Regions from separate parts of the Homo sapiens genome. Here region 2 is linked to region 1. The links are contacts of gene promoters, found by promoter capture Hi-C in blood cells and fetal thymus (Javierre and others, 2016). All regions are on one chromosome and are shown on one strand. The core of a region is centred on a gene start or on the middle of the fragment in contact, and the rest is flanking DNA. Distances in the headings are between cores, read along the strand shown. Region 1 holds the start of HSBP1 (heat shock factor binding protein 1). Region 2 holds the start of FOXC2 (forkhead box C2).

Region 1 (2,827 bases), core at 288-2,787:
CCTGGGCAACAAGAGCAAAACTCCGTGTCAAAAAAAAAAAAAAAAAAAAAAAGAAAAGAAAAGAAAAAAAAAATTGCCCCCTTCCTCACCTTCAACTCTTTTGCGTGGCAGGTATCTTGTTTTCACTTTCCAGTTCTTCCACCCCAGCCTGTGTCATGAGGTCCGCGATATTCTTTTCCAGATCATCAATGCGACTACTCATATCATCAAGTGCTGAAGTTAAAGACAACGCGTGCCAACATCTCATTGAGCCTTTTTCCTCCCGTCCCTGCAGACTACAGCCTTAAACACAACGACTTTAGGGAAACTGGTCTTCCAATTTTCTTTCGACACTGTTACACGCTGGTGGGTAAGAGTACAGGACTGTGGGGCATGGCTACCCCGCATCGGATTCCAGCCCTGACCCTTACTAGTGATGGAACCCCTAAACCTCAATTTATTCATTTGCTAAAGATGATAACACTACAACCCACTCATAAGGTCATGCTGAGCATCAAAAGACACACACAAAAGCGCTTAGTTCACAGTGCATGGTCCACCACACCAGCTATTAGGATTGGTAGACGTATGCTCCTTGAGCCAGGAGTCTAACTCAGCTTTGCCCCTAGCTCTCGGCGCAGTCCTTCTCAGAAACACAGTACAATCCAAGCTCAAATTCTACAAGTGAATGGCTGAAGCTAGCCTGAAAACTACTCATTTATCCCCACCACTGCCCGGCAAATAGGCTCCAAAGGCCCACAGGAGGCCGACTGCAGATAAAAAGGATATTTCTCCCAATGATCTGGTCAGACATGGTCTGAAATTTATCTTGCATCTGCTGCAGGAGTGTCTGCACCTAAGAAAAACCGAAACAAACAAACACGGTCCACATCGATCCTGAGACAACTTCCTGGGATCAGGACGCAAGCCCTGGTCCCGGGGTTCCAGCCCCATTTCTGCCTCTGGACAGCTGTGCGGCCTTCAGCAAGATCTTCCTTCTCTGGGCTTCCGTTTTCCAACCTGTCCAATTAGACTGCTGGGCTGGGGAGGCCGCTGCGACTCAAAGCTCAGGGTCTTTAGGTTGTTTCTGCCGGGCTGGGGCACCCGGGGGTGTGTGAGGAGTTGAAGGGCGGGGAGGGTGTCAGAGGTAGGCGGGAGGGACCCGGAGGGCGTTCGCGACAGATGAATGGGGCTACTGGAAGGGGTCGGGCTTGGGGGCGCCCGCGGGGAGACTGGCCCGCACCGAGCGCCCCGGGGGTCAAGGTGGCCGGGAGCCTCGGCCAGAGACGCTTCCAGAAACGGGGCCTCGGCAGACGCCACGCGCGGCCGCGGTGGGCGCGCCTCTGTCCAGCAGGGCTTGGCCCGGCGCCGCCCGGGAAGGCCGCGGCCTCCGGCCCTCACAGCCGTCCCTTACCACCGAGGTGAGGTCCTGCACGGTCTTGGGGTCAGTCTCGGCCATCTCCCCGATGCCCAGCTTGGCGGTGATGTCTCAGACCGTAACCTACACTTCCGTTTGTCCGCTCAGTCGCCCCGGGCCGCTGCTTCTCGCGACGAGACTGGCAGCTCGCGGGACCGCGGGGCATTATGGGAGTAGTAGTTTCTCCCGCACCGGAAGGGCCTCGAGGCCGCGCGCTTCCGTTCCAAGGAGCGGCCCCACCCCACTCTCCCCGCCTTCTTTCGCATAGCCCCTCCCCTCCCTCTATGCCCCGCCCCTCACGCAGCGCGCCGTCAGTGGGGTGGAAAGTGAGACCAACTCAGAAATGGAGCAATAGAGGCAGGGAGTGGTCTTGGCCTCTCTTCCAGGCTGTAGTCAGTCGAAAGACGGCTCTGGGGTTTCTTTGGCCTGTCGGGACGAACTTACAGAACTTTTGCCCTTCAACAAGCCCCACTGTACCCTTGTAACTGCCCCCAAGCCAAGGAACATGACCCACCCCTACCCGCCCCGGGAGCCCCATGGCTCCTGTCCTGTTCTGTCATCTCCACCCTATGAAGGTGGCCAGCGTCTGGAGTTTAGCCCAGTAGGTTCATTGTGCCCGTCAGGTTCATATGAGGGGATTCAGACAGGAAGCTGTCCATCATGCCTGGCTTCTTTCACTCCACGCAATGCCTGCTGTTGAGTGGGGAAGGCTTCCGGCATCAGGGTTAGACTGTGGGTTTGGGTGTTGAAGGAGGTGGGCACTGCTGATTTGGAACCTCAAGTTCCAACCCCACAGGTGGTCTTTAGGATTGGGTCTCATGGCAAGGGGATAGGAGAGTCCTTGACTGCGGGCCTGGCATGTTCTGGAAACTTTCACACATCTCATTTAAGGACTGTGCTATGTGAGGGGTCAGCTCCAGTTTGACTTTAGCTAGGGAGAGGCTGTAAGGTGTTAGAGCTGTTACGGGAAAGGGTCCTGATCCAGACCCCAAGAGAGGGGGTTCTTGGATCTCATGCAAGAAAGAATTCAGGGCGAGTCTGTAAAGTGAAAGCAAGTTTAAGAAAATGAAGGAATAAAAGAATGGTTACTCCATAGACAGAGCCCTGAGGGCTGCTGGTTGCTCATTTTTATAGTTATTTCTTGATTATATGCTAAACCAGGGGTGGGTGATTCATGCCTCCCCTTTTTAGACTATATAGCGTAACTTCTTGACGTTGCCATGGCATTTGTAAACTGTCATAGCGGTAATGGGAGTGTAGCAATGAAGACAAGCAGGGTTCACTCTTATTGCCATCTTGGTTTTGGTGGGTTTTGGCCGGCTTCTTTACCGCAAGCTGTTTTATCAGCAAGGTCTTTATGACCTGTACCTTGTGCTGACCTCCTATCCCATCCTGTGACTTAGAATCCTTTAACTGTCTGGGAATGCAGCC
Region 2 (2,921 bases), core at 369-2,868, 2.8 Mb before region 1:
CGCTCAGGGGCGACGTGGGGCCGCTCGGGTGGTCCGAGAGGGCCTCGTCCAGGGCGGGCGGGACGCACATGTGCGCCGGCCGCTCGGCCCCGGTGTACAGGCTCATCGCTCGCATGCTGCACTGGTAGCCCCCGGCGGCCCCGGCCTCCAGGCCCTGAGCGCACGGCTGGCCGTAGGCGGCGGGCGGCGCGGCGGCGTAGGGCAGCGCCAGCGGCGGCACCACCAGGCCCGCGCGTCCGGCCCCCGGGCTCAGCTCTCCGCCCGGCGGCGACGTTCGCAGGGTCATGATGTTCTCCACGCTGAAGCCAGGCAGCCCGTTGGGCGCCGCGGCGTGGTGCTCCGGCAGCGAGCCGTCGGGGGAGCCGGCGGGCGTGGAGGCCGCGCTGCGCGGGCTGCCCTGCAGCGCGCTCTCGGGGCTCAGCGTCTCCACCTTGGTGATGACCGGCAGCGCCGGGGACGCCGCCTCGCTCTTGATCACCACCTTCTTCTCGGCCTCCTTGGGGGCGTCCGCTAGGTGGGGGGTGGCCGGGGCGCCCTTGGACGCCGCCGGGGGCGGCTCCTTGAGGTGGGCCCGCTCCTCCTTCTCCTTGGACACGTCCTTCTTTTTGAAGCGCCGCCGGCGCCGCAGGAAGCTGCCGTTCTCGAACATGTTGTAGGAGTCCGGGTCCAGGGTCCAGTAACTGCCCTTGCCGGGCTTCTTGTCGTCGCGGGGCACCTTGACGAAGCACTCGTTGAGCGAGAGGTTGTGGCGGATGCTGTTCTGCCAGCCCTGCTTGTTCTCCCGGTAGAAGGGGAAGCGGTCCATGATGAACTGGTAGATGCCGTTCAAGGTGATCTTCTTCTCGGGCGCGTTCTGGATGGCCATGGTGATGAGCGCGATGTAGCTGTAGGGCGGCTTCACCAGGTCCTTAGGCGCCGCGGGCTGGTGGTGGTGGTAGGGCGCGTAGGAGCGGCCCATCCCCGCGCTGTACTGCTCCGGGTGGCCGGAATAGACGCCCATGGGGCTGGCCATGCCGCCGTAGCTGCCCGCAGCCCGGTAGTAATTCTGCTCGCTCAGGTAGGGCACCACTCCCAGGGCGTTGGGGTCGGACACGGAGTAGCGCGCCTGCATGCTGCTTCCGAGACGGCTCGCCGGCGCCCTCGCGCACGGACTGCGGCCGGGGGAGCGAGGGGGGCCCTGAGAGCGAGAGAGCGCGAGAGAGCCAGAGGGGGAGAGGAGGGGAGCGGGAGGGGCGGCCCCGGGCTCCTGGCAGCCTCCGGGGCGAGGGTGCGCGGGCGGCGGCGCTCGGGCCGAGCAGGGGCGCGCGCTTTCAGCGGACCGGGCGGATCGGCATCCTGGAGGGCGCGCCCCGGGCAAGCGCAGCGCCGGCCCCGCTCCTCGCTGGCTCCAGGACCCGGCGGCGGCAGCGCGGGCAGGCGGGCGGCCGCGGACCCAGCGGAGACGCCGCGGCCTGGGGACCCAGGTGGACCCTCGGCCCGCGCGAGGAGGGGCGCAGGAGGCTCTCCAAGCCCCCAGCGAATCGGCAGCCCCGAGGGTCAGCGCGCCGGGGTCCGAGCGGCTGCCCCGCTGAGCCCAGAAAAAGAGGCCAAGTCCCTTTTAGGGATTGGGAAAAGTTTCAAAAGTCTTCTTGCTGAAAGCGAGTTTTTACTTTCCTCGGGCCACGCCCCCTCCCGGAACTTTGAGCCAATCACCCGGCAGCTGAGAGGAGTCGGCGCCAATCGGGGCGAGGAGCGCAGGAATCCGTCGGCTCTAAGACCCCGCCGCCCCGGCCTCCGCGGCGACTCCGTCTTCACTTGAAAACTTTTTAAAAAGTTATATCTTATTAAAATTTATTTTATGATCACATTTTGGTGAATGGGCCCACATGCCCAAAACAAAAAGATAGCCACTTTCCTCTGTTAAAAAAAATCAATTTGAAATATAAAATAGAATGGATTAATAGAGTAAAATATCTCTCCCAAAGACCTTGTAAGTAGCAATGATCCTGGGACATTTTTCTTATTAATGAGTGATGAAGCGAATAATTAGATTTCCTAATTATGGGGGCCCAGGTGTAATGGATTCAAAGCAAACGCGCTGGATTGGAATGGCAGGGCCTCTCCTGGATGTTATACTTATTTAATCAAATAATTAATCATCAACAGGGAGTTTCCAGGCTCGGGGTCGTCAAGGATAACCTATCGAGGTTTTAGAGGTAAACCCTACAAACTGAGTTTCCCTCGCTCCCCGCCGAGGAGCCAGGCAGCGGAGTGCATAGAGGGGAAGGTAGCAACGTGCTGACTGACAACTTAATCCTCCGAATTCGCGGGGAATTCGGTAGATCATCCGCGTCGCTGCGAGCAGTTTTGTGGGGTTTGGGGAAAAGGGTGAAGTGACTCTGCTATTTCCCCCTTTCGTCTCCCGCGTGGACACTCGCAGCCTACCAACTTCAGCTTCGAAACTCGTCTCCCTTTTCCCAGGTAGAAATTCCCTCTAACAAGCTGACCCCGCACTCCCAGAAGACCGGGACAATGCAGCGACCCACCCGGGCCAGGCAGAGCCGAGTTCCTGGGCCCTGCGAGGAGAAACCCGAGCCTGTTTTCCGCGGGGGCTTGGCTCGAAGGCGCGCGCAATGAGCGCCGCGCACCGCGGGCACCAAGCGTGGACGTTTCCCGTGGCCCAGGCCGGCGCCGGCCGCTAACACCGACCCTAGGGCGCTGTCCCTGCCTCCTGCTCCTGGCAACGTCCCCCTGGGAGCCTCCAAGTTGCTTTTCTATATTTCAGCCTTTTTTTTGTTTTGTTGGGTGGGTAGGGTGAGTTAGGGAGCGCGCTCCGTGGGAAGACTGGGTGAGCGGTTGATTGCAAACGGTTCAAGATCCCTTCGGGATGATATTATTCGGCAGGCAGACCTGGAGCGACTTGGATCTCCTTCAAGGATTTC

What was found. The method cuts DNA at HindIII sites, captures the fragments that hold promoters and counts their contacts. A CHiCAGO score of 5 or more calls a contact.
Region 2: a contact is called between the fragment with the promoter of FOXC2 here and the fragment with the promoter of HSBP1 in region 1, in 6 of 17 cell types (total CD8 T cells, naive CD4 T cells, total CD4 T cells and 3 more). The highest score is 10.8, in total CD8 T cells.

What each region holds. Positions count from the first base shown.
Region 1 is chr16:83,806,688-83,809,514 of GRCh38, reverse strand. HSBP1 (heat shock factor binding protein 1) reads right to left here and starts at 1,537. Exons shown (of 4, transcript NM_001537.4): 1 at 1,394-1,537; 2 at 769-835; 3 at 90-210. The coding sequence starts at 1,438. The coding sequence ends at 92. RefSeq lists silencers at 1,101-1,390, 1,408-1,584 and an enhancer at 1,242-1,743. The HindIII fragment of the contact is 4,790 bases long and covers 1-2,827 here.
Region 2 is chr16:86,565,526-86,568,446 of GRCh38, reverse strand. FOXC2 (forkhead box C2) reads right to left here and starts at 1,618. Exons shown (of 1, transcript NM_005251.3): 1 at 1-1,618. The coding sequence starts at 1,111. FOXC2-AS1 (FOXC2 antisense RNA 1) reads left to right here and starts at 686. Exons shown (of 2, transcript NR_125795.1): 1 at 686-830. RefSeq lists enhancers at 315-898, 899-1,483. The HindIII fragment of the contact is 11,287 bases long and covers 1-2,921 here.